Linked DNA regions of Homo sapiens: region 1 is linked to region 2. The links are contacts of gene promoters, found by promoter capture Hi-C in blood cells and fetal thymus (Javierre and others, 2016). All regions are on one chromosome and are shown on one strand. The core of a region is centred on a gene start or on the middle of the fragment in contact, and the rest is flanking DNA. Distances in the headings are between cores, read along the strand shown.

Region 1 (5,900 bases), core at 512-3,011, 130 kb before region 2:
ACCTTGAAAGACTCCAAATCTCTCCTTAGTGAATGGTGCTAAGGGAAAAGTAAAAGACTGGGATCCCTGTGGAGTTGTAACTATAGAGAAGGAATAGAGTGGATAAAGATCAGCTAAAGGGGTGGGAGATGCCGCCTGCATCTTTCTGGTCTCAGCTTATAGATTTTCAGATACAAAGTGGAAGAAAAGTTCAAGGTCGCTGTGGCCAGATCTCTAAATTGGTCATAGATTTACTTCCTCTTGGATAATCCCTCCTGCAACATCAGATGGAATCACAAACTCTAAACTTCACTTTTCTACTGCCACCCTACTCCATGCCTTTCCAAAAATGGGGAACACTGATTGGTATTATTTTATGCCATGAGATTAGGGAAGCAACTGCTAGACTGCTTTAGCTCCCACATCCTTCATGAGGAAGAGAGTGACTTCTAGAGGGCTGGCCAGGTGGAGCGTCAGACCAAAAAAACAGTTCTCCAGACAAGCCAGAAATTAAGGAGGAAGTAATAACTTTGGAGTGCTTGGGGTTAGGAAGTCATATGTGTTATAGAGAGCAAAGGAACTTTGAAATGAGCATGGTCAGCCTCTTTGGAATCCAGTTGGGAAGTCAGGGTCCAGGGCCTTCCATTTGCCAAGGCTTTGCCTCCCTGGCTTGTATCTTGGGTATCCCCTCAACCTTGCCTTTCCTGCCAGGTGAGTTTCCTATAGAAAAGACTAGACCCTTCTGCCCTCACCATCAGGGCCAGAACTCCTCTCTAGGCTGGCGTTTGGGAGGGTTAGCCCTTAGTAACAGCTGCTGAGAAGAAGAAGGGAGTGGGGACCACACTTCCTCAGCTGTTCAGCAGACCAACTGTGTGTTTCGCCATCTTGTGCTCCCATTAGAAAGGTAAAGTAAAGGAAGCTGCCCAGCGCTACCAGTACGCCCTGAAGAAGTTCCCTAGAGAAGGGTTTGGTGAGGACTTGAAAACTTTCCGGGAACTAAAGGTGTCTCTCCTCCTCAACCTCTCTCGGTGTCGCAGGAAAATGAACGTAAGTCCCTGTCACCCCAACTCCTTTCTGCAATCCTGGTAGCTGATAGCCTGTGTCACTCACTAGCTTTTACCAGGCCCCTGAAATCCTCCTCTGCCCCATTTGGAACTTGGTTGTCCTTCACAGAGCACTGACATTTGCAATTTGAAAGAAATCAAGTCTAAGTACAATCTGTATCTCAAACTGTACAGAAATTAATGCTGCGAGTACTTTGCAGCTTTCTGAATGTTCATAATTTAACTGAAAGTGATGAGAATACCATCTTTCCCACCCCCATACCACCAAGTCAGTGTTCTGGTCTTTGGGAAAATGTGAGAGCAGTGGTCACTAGAATTCCAGTTGCAATTAGATGTGAATTGTAGTCATTACTCTCAGGTATATTCCCTTATCATTTGAAGAAGGGCTAAGGAGAGGGCTTGGACCATGGTCTTGAAGGTTTAATTTCTGAGGCTATCGAACTTTTCGCCTCTTTCCTCATCTTTGTATCCCAGCATGCTATGTCCCTTCTTGTCCTAGGGGGAATCTCAGAACTCCCCCTGGACCTTTATCGTCTCCCTGGTAAGCCACGGTCCTTCCTGCCTACCTTGCAGACCCATCTCACATGTCCCCAGACACTGCTCCCTCAGCCACTGCCCTTTAACGTGAAGACACTCCAAGCCAAGAACCCTCTCTCAGGTTTTGGAAATAGCTAAGATTGTGTCAGGAGTCTCTGACATCTACCTGCCTGAGGTCTCACAGTTCCTCAGGAGATAAAAATAATCCAAGCCAAACAGATGTATTGATCAATTAAAAACTCAGCTGGACAGAAGCAAGATTTGAACCTCATGGCCAGGGATCTTCCAGAAAGATTTGTGTGTGTAACCTTTAGATCATCCATTCCAGACCCTAAACCCTGACACTGGAAGGAACCTGAGTTAAACCTGACTGTCTCAGAGAACATAGCCATGACCTTCAGAGGCAGAGTTAAACCTGACTGTCTCAGAGAACACAGCCATGACCTTCAGAGGCAGAGTTAAACCTATCTCAGAGAACACAGCCATGACCTTCAGAGGCAGAGTTAAACCTGACTGTCTCAGAGAACACGGCCATGGCCCTCAGAGGCAGAGTTGCTCCAGGGTGCTGAGGGAAGTGGGGATGTGGAAGAGGCCCCCCAACCCCGGGAAGGGAGAAGGTGGCGGTCTCGGGAGACAGATTTTCATGCTCTTGGGGTCTCCTGTGAAATGAAAGGAACAGCACCAAGGCCTCCCCTGCACCAGCCGATGAGGATGAGGCAAAGCTCAGAAGTTGCTGCCAACCCACTGATCTCTTTTCCCTACCAAATAATAGACTTTTTAAAAATGCCCTCATATTTTTAGGAATAATGATGGTCCCAAAAGAACAAATAAAAGGGTAAGGCTGGAAGCAGAGCAGGGAGAGGGTGACCCATAAAAGCTGAAATTCTTTCTAGCTCCACATTTGTTCAGAAGCGGTTGTTAATCACCTCCTGGGCCAATACTGTGCCAAACACCAGACGTCTGTCTTCTTAGGTAGAGGATTTCCCATCAACTTTTAAAAAATTTTTTTACCTATGCCCCAGGGCCTTTGTTCTGCCCAAGGCCTTGTTTTCTGCCTTAGGACTCATGACCATAACCAGAGGCTACCATGCTATACTGTGGCTTTGACACTAAAAGAAGGGGAAAGCCTTCTCTTTTAGCTTAGTATTTAAGGGAATACTGAAAACCATAGGCTGCCTAGTCGGCGTTGTTCCCCACCCCACCCCCCAGTCTCTGTTTCCAGGGGTTCTCAGGAATGACATGCCTGTGAGCGTGTTCCTCTAGGGAGAGCACAGACCTCAGTCACAGCTGGGGTCTTCTCTTGTTTTGTTTTATTTTTAATTTTAAGTGTTTCCTAAGTAAGGAACCAGTTAAAAAAAGGAACAGATCAGAGAAGCCTCTGTGAAATAGAAAGAAAACGATAATTAATGAGCACCTACTATGTGCCGGGAACTGTGCAGGGCTTTTAAATACTGTATCACACTTGATCCTACCCCCGGGGTAGGTATGGATGAGAAAATACACTATACACTTGGGGGTTATGAAGCTGGTCAGAGAATTGAACCCAGGTCTGTCTGACACCCCCTCTCCCTCTAGTCTCTGTAGTCAGTGCAGTTTCCTTTACAGACGTCATCCTCCCGGACTTTACAGGACACCTTCTCACCTGTCCCTTAGAAAGCCACAGTGTAGTGCATGTAGCAGGAAGGTGTGGGGCTCAGACCAGGGTCCACGTGAAATGTGGACATGTGTGCGTTTGCCTCCTACATGCATGGATAACTTCAGGAGCTTCACTGGAAAGGGTTGGTGTTTGGCTTCCGGGCTGAGAACTTTATTAGAAAGGCAAAAAGAGGGAAAATTAAAACTATTTTAATATTCTGGGCAGATAAAGTCCAGTGAGCAGTCGCAGCGCTACACAGGACAAAGGCAGAAGGAACTTTCAGTCCACAGGCCACGCGGCTTGAGCCATGTCAGGCACGTCTAGCGTCCCAGGCGTTCCATCCATGAATGTCAAAAAATGTACAAATAATTTGTTTTATTCCCAAGTTGTCTATTTTTTATATCTCATCAATGACTCATTTGCACACCTATTGTAATGACAGGATTTTGGAATGGCGGAGGAATTTGCTACTAAGGCCCTGGAGCTGAAACCGAAATCTTATGAAGCTTACTATGCGAGAGCAAGGGCAAAACGCAGCAGCAGGTGAGGAGAGAGAGAGAGGGTGAAAGCAAGAGGTCTCTTTTCTGAAAATTTGGCCAAGGCAGCGTCGGCCACCCTGGGGCATATGTACCCAAATACATCTCTGTCCTTGAGAACTGTCAGGGCCAAGCTTTGGGGATGGCTCCCATAGCACAGCCCTCAGCTCAAGATCAGCAAATCTGCTGGGCTGTGGAGGCCACGAATGTTTCACTTCGGGAGAAAAACACTTTTTCACTGGAGAATGGCAGCTTCTTCCAAGAAGCCTCTGCCGTATCTCAGGCATTTTTCAACCCCCAGAGCAGCTAGCACAAAGAGACAACGGCGACTTAAAGAAATCACTTAAGCAGAGCACCCCACCCCCGCTTTAGAGGGAAAGTAGGATGGTTCACTTAACATCACAGGTTCCTCTTCCTTCTCCCATAGGCGTTTGAGGAATCCCGGATTAGTTAGTCTTCCCTCTGGGGCTCTCCTCAAGTCTGGTGGCATCAGACCCCCTTCCACCTAAACCATCACCCACCACACACACACAGAGTCAAGAGGTCCTTGCTGCCAGGATGGAGAGGACCCTCTAAGAGAACACCATTCCACATTCCTTGTGCCCATCTGCTTTAGTTTGGCCACTGGGCAGAAAAGCTCCCAGAATAACCTAGAACCTGCCATCAGTGATCTTTGTGTAACTTGTCACTGTCTCTTATGCCTCCTGCCCTCCTCCTCCCCAGCTGCATGGGAAAGAACTGCTTCAGGTTCACTGCTATGGCCAGGGGCACATGGTCCCGAAAATCACACCCAGCTTGAGGCTAGTGATGGTGGTGGCAGTGATCGCACTCTTACCTAGCTGGGGCAACGAAGTCCTCACAGAAATCTGACTGAAATTCTCCTTCCCTCTGGGTAGTTCCTTTTTCACAAGGTCAGTTGCCCCTGTCAGGTGATATTAGTAGAGAAGATGGGAATGTCTCTGACAGTTCATTTCTTCATTTGTAAATTAGAGTCTCCTTGGAGTCAGCTCAGCTCCAGCCCCGAGTGACCTAGTCAGCAAGCCTAATGCCTGCCCCACTTTGATAGAGCAAATGGAGACACAGCAATTCTGAGAGATGAGGGTTAGAAAGGGCAGAGGACAGGGTTCTTGCCTAGAGTAGAACAGGCCTGAAATTTGGAGCTAAAATATTGAGAATATAAAGAAAAATTTCTGCTGGATCAGCAAGATTTTTAAATATGTAGTTTTTTTTGTTCCTAAGCTACTTGACAGTGACCCTGTAAATGACAACCCCACCCAACTCTCATACTGCCTGGTGTGTGTTTGGGCACCAAAACAACTTCCCGAAGGGCCTGGCTGGACTGACAAAATGGGGCATTTCTCCACTATTCCCAGAGAGGCCAGAAGGAAGATGGAGGCCGAATGGGTTAGGGAATCATTCGGACTCTTCCAGAATGAGTCTTCCTGTTTCCTTCCCTATAAATCCAACTAAACCGAAATACCCCAGACTCCCACAGACGCCACCACAGCTCTCTGAGATAGTGACCATGTTCTCAGCTCTTGGTGATTTCTCTGGATTCAGAATAACTCCAGTTCCTGTGTTCACATTTTGTCAAGCAGACAGTTCGCAGCAGCCTTAGAGGACCTGAACGAGGCCATCAAGCTGTGTCCCAACAACCGTGAGATCCAGAGACTTCTGCTGAGAGTGGAAGAAGAGTGTAGACAGATGCAGCAGCCACAGCAGCCACCGCCGCCACCGCAGCCTCAGCAGCAGTTGCCGGAAGAAGCAGAACCTGAGCCACAGCATGAAGACATATACTCTGTACAGGATATATTCGAGGAGGAGTACCTGGAACAGGATGTTGAAAATGTTTCCATTGGCCTCCAGACAGAGGCCCGGCCCAGCCAGGGGCTCCCGGTCATCCAGAGCCCACCCTCCTCTCCCCCGCATCGGGACTCAGCCTACATCTCCAGCTCACCTCTTGGCTCTCATCAGGTTTTTGACTTCCGGTCCAGTAGTTCTGTAGGCTCTCCCACTAGACAGACCTATCAGTCCACCTCACCTGCCCTTTCTCCAACTCATCAGAACTCACATTACAGGCCTAGCCCACCACACACTTCCCCGGCTCATCAGGGAGGATCTTACCGTTTCAGCCCCCCTCCTGTGGGA
Region 2 (6,469 bases), core at 3,911-6,410:
CCCTACCCTGACTTGTTCACAGTGCAGCATCAGGCCCAGAGCCTCTGTGGCCCCAGAGCAGCCAGGGCTTCTGCTTACCTCCTTTATGATCAGAGTCATGATAGGGTTAGCCTGGGCAAGGTGCTGGCAAAGCCCAGAATGTGACTCCAGAGCCTGCAGCTGGGGCCAGGGCAGCAGGACCCTGAGGTGTGGGAAGGGCAGGTACAATTTTTGCCTGATCCCATCCCTGAAATCAGGGTGGATTAACCCGCAGCCTGGCCTGGGGTGCATCCCTCTTTCTTGCTCCTCCCAGACCCCAAGCTATGGAGACTTGGATGACTGTAGTCCAAAGCACAGGAACTCCTCCCCCAGGATGCCTCACCTGGCTGTGGCAACGGACAAAACTCTGGCACCATCCTCAGAACAGGAACAGCCTGAGGGGCTCTGGCCACCCCTAGCCTCACCTCTACATCCCCTGGAAGTACAAGGACTCATCTGTGGTCCCTGCTTCTCCTCCCTCCCTGAACACCTTGGCTCTGTTCCCAAGCAGCTGGACTTCCAGAGACATGGCTCAGATCCTGGATTTGCAGGGAGTTGGGGCCACTGAACTCCAAGATAAAGACACCATGAGGGGACTGAAGGTGGGCAAGGTGAGAGTTAAGGATCTTGGGGAGGTGGCCGGGTGCAGTGGCTCGCCTGTAATCCCAGCACTTTGGGAGGCCGAGGCGGGCGGATCAGACCATCCTGGCTAACACGGTGAAACCCCACCTCTACTAAAATTAAAAAAGAAAAAAAATAGCCGGGCGTGGTGGCAGGCGCCTGTAATCCCAGCTACTGGGGAGGCTGAGGCAGGAGAATGGCATGAACCCGGGAGGTGGAGGTTGCAGGGAGCCGAGGCCGCACCACTGCACTCCAGCCTGGGTGACAGAGTGAGACTCCAACTCAAAAAAAAAAAAAAAAAAGATCTTGGGGAGGCAGACAGCCCCCCAGATGGGCCTCTCCTAAAGTAGCTACAAACTGCTGATCCAGGTGACCCAGGATGGCGTGGGTGAAGAAGCTCACGACTTTTCCCAGCCTCCTCCAGGGCTCCATTTAAACAGCAAGCCTGGTGCAGGGTGGGAGAGTCTCAGGTGTGGAGGCAGCTTACAGGATTGAGGGGGCAGTGAAGAAAGAGGTTTCTGATCTACATGAGTACCTTGCTCTGAGCCTCCCAGCTCAGAACCCTCCAGCACCTCATGGCTCAGCACCAAGGCCCGGGGTTGGTCAGAACTCTTACCATGAGCCTCTGACCTGGCTGGAGATGGAGGTATGTTCTGTGGCAGACATGTCAGGACAGTCCTCCAGCCCTCTGCTCCTGATGGTTCTGTGACATTGGGTCTCTTGAGGGCAGTGGAGTGTCACACAGCTAATAAAGTACACATTTCATGTTGGACTGGGTGTGTAACTTATCTGAAGGTCATTACGTCTTTGACTGTGCTGTGGCTTTCTCCAAACCCTTCTTGTAAGGAGCTGCAGACTTACCCTCCACCATATCCAGTGTGTTGGGGACCTGAAGGTGGTTCTGCTGGGCCCAGAGGCTCCTGGAGCCTGGGGCTGTTAGGCCGAGGTGAAGGGAAGCAGAGGCACTGGCTTGGTGGCCCTAGGGGATCATGACAACAGCCAACACTTCGGTAGCACTCGCCCCGTACCAGGCACTGTGCTGACAGCTCTGCAGATACTTGTTCATCTAATCCTCAAAACAACCCCAACGGGTTGGTATTATTATCCCCATTTTACAGATGTGGGATCAGTAGCAGAGAGACTAAGACACCCAAACATGAGGGGGATTTCTGAGGTGCAGGTACTGTTCTGTTTCCTGATCTAGGTGCTGGTTACAGGTGTTCAGGTTGCGAAAGAGTGTGCTTCTGTGTGTAAATTATACCTCAGTTAAAAAGAAAATAAAAATAAAAAAAGAGGCCAGGTGTAGTGGCTCATGCCTGTAATCCCAGGGCTTTGGGAGGAGGATGAGGCAGGAGGACTGCTTGAGGCCAGGAGTCCAAGGTTACAGTAAGCCGTGATTGCATCACTGAACTCACACCCTGGGCAAGGGAATAAGACCCTGTCTCAAAATGAAAATTTTAAAAATCATCCCCGTGCCCAACACGGGGCATTTGTATTGACCCATTTCTACCCAAATAGCAGCGATTTGAGAGCCACCACCATCTATTTTAAAAACACAAGAAACCCTTCTTTAACATCGTTCTTTTTTCTTTTCTCATAATTCCCACTTATTCCTCCCATAGTTTTATCCTACATGTAATTTATTGGTATGCTTCAAAGCCTAATATTGATCACCCTATCATATGTTTGCAACACAAATATGTATACAGGCTGGGTGCAGTGGCTCACTCATGCCTGTAATCCCAACACTTTGGGAGGCTGAGGCTGGAAGATTGCTTGAGCCAGGAATTCAAGACCAGCCTGGGCAGCATAGCTCAACCTGGTCTCTACAAAACAATTTTTTTTTAATTAGCCAAGCATTGTGATGCGCACCTGTAGTCCCAGGTACTACAGGGCTTGCTGGGAGGCTTGGGTGGGAGAGTCACTTGAACCTAAGAGGTCAAGACTGCAGTAAGCCATGTTCATGCAACTGTACTCCAGCCCGGGTAACAGAGCAAGACTCGGTCTCTTAAAAAAAAAAAAAAAAGTGGCTGGGCGCAGTGGCTCACACCTGTAATCCCAGCACTTTGGGAGGCTGAGGTGGGCAGATCACGAGGTCAGGAGATCAAGACCATCCTGGCTAACAGGGTGAAACCCCATCTCTACTAAAAATACAAAAAAAATAGCCAGGCGTGGTGGCAGGTGCCTGTAGTCCCAGCTACTCGGGAGGCTGAGGCAGGAGAATGGCGTGAACCCAGGAGGTGGAGCTTGTAGTGAGCCAAGATCGTGCCACTGCACTCCAGCGTGGGCAACAGAGCAAGACTCCGTTTCAAAAAAAAAGTAGGTCGGTCATGGGGTGGCTCATGCCTATAATCCCAGCATTTTGGGAGGCTGAGGTGGGAGGACCAGTTGAACCCAGCCTGGGCAACATAGCAAGATCTTGTCTCTACAAAAAATAAAGGAGGCAGGAGGATTGCTTGAGCCCGGGAGGTCAAGGCTGCAATAAGCACTGTTTGCCCCACTGCACCACCACCTGGATAACAGAGCAAGACCCTGCCTCAAAACGAATGTGTATAAATTAATTGACATTTTAAAATTAATTTTTGTAACCTTAATAAGGCTTTAAGGGTTACATCTATTAGTAGTACAGTTGTTCAAAACAACATAAATATATATTCAATTTTCTAATAAAAACTAAAATTTTATTGGAAATATACGTCATAAAAGAGAAAATTTCCTCCCCCCGTTAGTTCCTATATCTGTGGATAAATATCATTATTTTTTATTAGAATAAGACAAGGTACCGCGAATTTTGTACGTCTTTTTCTTTCCTTTTTAAATTTGTTTTTAAACTTTCCTCCTTACAGGGGATTTCCTTTAGCTGGGCATGGTGGCGGGCGCCTGTAATCCCAGCTACTCAGGAGGCTGAAGCAAGAGAATCACTTGAACCCTAAAGGCAGAGGTTGCAGTGAGCCGAGATAGTGCCACTGCACTACAGCCCGGGCGACAGAGTGAGACTCCATCTCAAAAATAAAATAAAATTAAAAAAAAAAGAGGATTTCTTGGCCAGATGCGGTGGCTCACGCCTGTAATCCCAACACTTTGGGAGGCCGAGGCTGGAAGATCATTTGAGGTCAGGAGTTCGACACCAGAATGGCCAACATGGTGAAACCCCATCTCTACTAAAAATACAAAAATTAGCTGGCTGTGGTGGTGCACCCCTGTAATCTCAGCTACTCGGGAGGCTGAAGCAGGAGAATCACTTGAACCTGGGAGGTGGAAAAATCATTTATCATTAAAAATTATATTTAGTGCCCAGAATGGTGGCTCAAGCCTGTAATCCCAGTACTTTAGGATGCTGATGTGGGAGGATCGCTTGAGCCCAGGAGTTCGAGATCAGCCTGGGCAACATGGAGAGATCTCATCTCTACAAATAATAATTTAAAAATAGCTAGGTGTGGTGGCAAATGTCTGTGGTTCCAGCTACTCCAGAGGCTAAAGTGGGGGAATCGTTTGAACCTAGGCAGTCCAGGCTACAGTGAGCCCTTATCACACCAGTGCACTCCAGCCTGGGTGACAGGGCAAGACCCTGTCTTTAAAAAAAAAAAAAAAAAGTATTTAATGTTATCATCCAACAATTCAATACAAACCTCCTTCAATTTTGATGAAAGCTGAGAATTGGAAATAATTTATATAAAGGTGTCATTTGGTCTCTGGCCCTTCCCCTTTTCCAACTCACAGGCACAGATACCTTTGGGGCTGGATTAGCATTTGCGTTGGGATCCACGGCGGGAAGGGTACAGGATGGGAACTGACAAAAACAGAGCCAAGCTGGTCGGGTCGGTGCCTACCCCAGAATTCGGGGACATTTCTAGATCCTGCAGGAAAGCGCGGGAGGGCCTGACTCAAGCTGGCCTGGCCCTGAGCGCATCTGCGCGCCCGAAGCCTGTCCCTGAGGCACGGAGAGAGCAGCTTTCGGGTTAAAAGGGCCCTGGGAAGAGATGGGGCGGGAAGGTGGTACCCGTTGGGCGCAGGCCAGGCTGCCAGGCCGCAGGGCTCTGTCCCGCGAAAGTCAGTAGGTCTTCCACTAAGGCAGAATTGTACTTTTACTCGACAGCGTGGAGAGGCCGCTCAGAACAGCAGCAGCGGAGGGGAAGTCAGCGCAGGTCACAGACGGTTTCACTCTCAGAGACTTGGCCTAGAACTTGGAGGCCCGCTGCTACAGCACGCTCGCCTCCAGGCCACCCACGCCCCCACCACCCGCACTGAGCCGTTATCTGCCTGACTGACATCTTGGCCAACCAATGACCTTTGGGGCTGCCAAAGCGCCTGCCTCCGAGAGTTGGGCGGGGCGAGTAGTTGCAATGACAAACATTTAACCCAATAGCGAGGAGATTTCAGACGCTACGGCCGCAATAACCAATGACAAGAAAGAATCCTTTCGAAAGGACGTGTCAGGCAACCAACGGCCGGTGCCGCTGCGGGGGTCCGGCGGCTTCCGTTCCGAGAGGGCGGGGCGGCGTCCCAAAACGGAAGGTGGTTGTCGTCCGTTCCCAAGCTGGTTTGAAACTAGGGGTCGGGCTCGGCCGTCGTCGTTGTTTGTCGCCGCATCCCCGCTTCCGGGTTAGGCCGTTCCTGCCCGCCCCCTCCTCTCCTCCCTTCGGACCCATAGATCTCAGGCTCGGCTCCCCGCCCGCCGCAGCCCACTGTTGACCCGGCCCGTACTGCGGCCCCGTGGCCACCATGTCCCTGCACGGCAAACGGAAGGAGATCTACAAGTATGAAGCGCCCTGGACAGTCTACGCGATGAACTGGAGTGTGCGGCCCGATAAGCGCTTTCGCTTGGCGCTGGGCAGCTTCGTGGAGGAGTACAACAACAAGGTGGGCCGGGCAGGGGCTCGGAACCCAGCTGGCGGGGAGCGGGCCCCGGGAGCGCCCTTTCCGGGCCGGAGCCCAGGCCTCAGAACCCTCTTGCGGACTCGCCCTAGGGCCACGGAGCGGTTCCTCTGTCTGGCCCTGTGCTGAAGGTTTCGTACTCGTTGTCTGTCTCCTTTAATCCAGGCAGCATTCTTGTGTAGTCGGCAGTGTAGTGGGGAAACTGAGGCACGGTTTTGTGACTTGCCTGGGTCAGGCAGCTATTTCGGGGTGGAAACAGGTCTTAAAACCGGGTTTACGCCCCAAAGATACTCCATTTATTCATCCCGTGCTCTCCACTCCTGCCGCATTGCTTTCGTTGGTGGGCGGGGAAGGGAAGAGAGAGTGATAGCTGTGAAGGAAAATGCAGGCGCTTCTATTGGTGGTCGTGCACTCCTGGCCACACTAGATTTCTATTAAGACGATCTATTGTACAAGCTTCCCCGCCCCCTACTCCCACCCCCCCCGGGTACTCATGGATCCTAGCCCTTCTGCCAGAATTACTGTTGCTCTTGCTTCCTGATATCCATTCTCTCTAAAGCAATCTCTTTGGAAATCTTGGCCTGTGGCATGATCCCGCCGTTGTTTCCTGAACACAGAAGGATGACAGGGCCTTATCTCTTGGCTTGTTTCGTGCTAGTACAGTTGTGTGACCTTTAGTAGTAAGTCTTGCTGGACATACATCAATTTGAGAATCCTTTATAGAAGCACGGTGTAGTAGGGGAGCTTTTAAACTGGCATTGCAACAAACTCATTTTTGAAAGTTGAATAAGTCAGTTGGAAGAATTTTCTTTCTTCCTTTTACTCAAAGTTGTGAATGATAGCGATCAGAGCAACTGAAAGCTGTGGCTAGTGATATTTAAAGCCACTACTCCTGCTTTATGCCATGAACATCAGATTTAAGAAGAGTAAAACTGGCCGGGCGCGGTGGCTCACG

The links. The method cuts DNA at HindIII sites, captures the fragments that hold promoters and counts their contacts. A CHiCAGO score of 5 or more calls a contact.
Region 1: a contact is called between a fragment that was not itself captured here and the fragment with the promoter of DCAF7 in region 2, in 1 of 17 cell types (activated CD4 T cells). The highest score is 5.7, in activated CD4 T cells.

The regions. Positions count from the first base shown.
Region 1 is chr17:63,414,649-63,420,548 of GRCh38, forward strand. TANC2 (tetratricopeptide repeat, ankyrin repeat and coiled-coil containing 2) reads left to right here. Exons shown (of 28, transcript NM_001394998.1): 26 at 880-1,026; 27 at 3,659-3,759; 28 at 5,351-5,900. Among named protein-coding and RNA genes, the nearest start is that of CYB561, 29 kb to the right of the region's middle. The HindIII fragment of the contact is 3,917 bases long and covers 1-3,720 here.
Region 2 is chr17:63,545,317-63,551,785 of GRCh38, forward strand. DCAF7 (DDB1 and CUL4 associated factor 7) reads left to right here and starts at 5,161. Exons shown (of 7, transcript NM_005828.5): 1 at 5,161-5,499. The coding sequence starts at 5,362. KCNH6 (potassium voltage-gated channel subfamily H member 6) reads left to right here. Exons shown (of 13, transcript NM_001278919.2): 13 at 293-1,411. The coding sequence ends at 586. RefSeq lists enhancers at 4,091-5,075, 4,375-4,764, 5,205-5,284 and silencers at 5,435-5,484, 5,505-5,654. The HindIII fragment of the contact is 8,271 bases long and covers 1-5,968 here.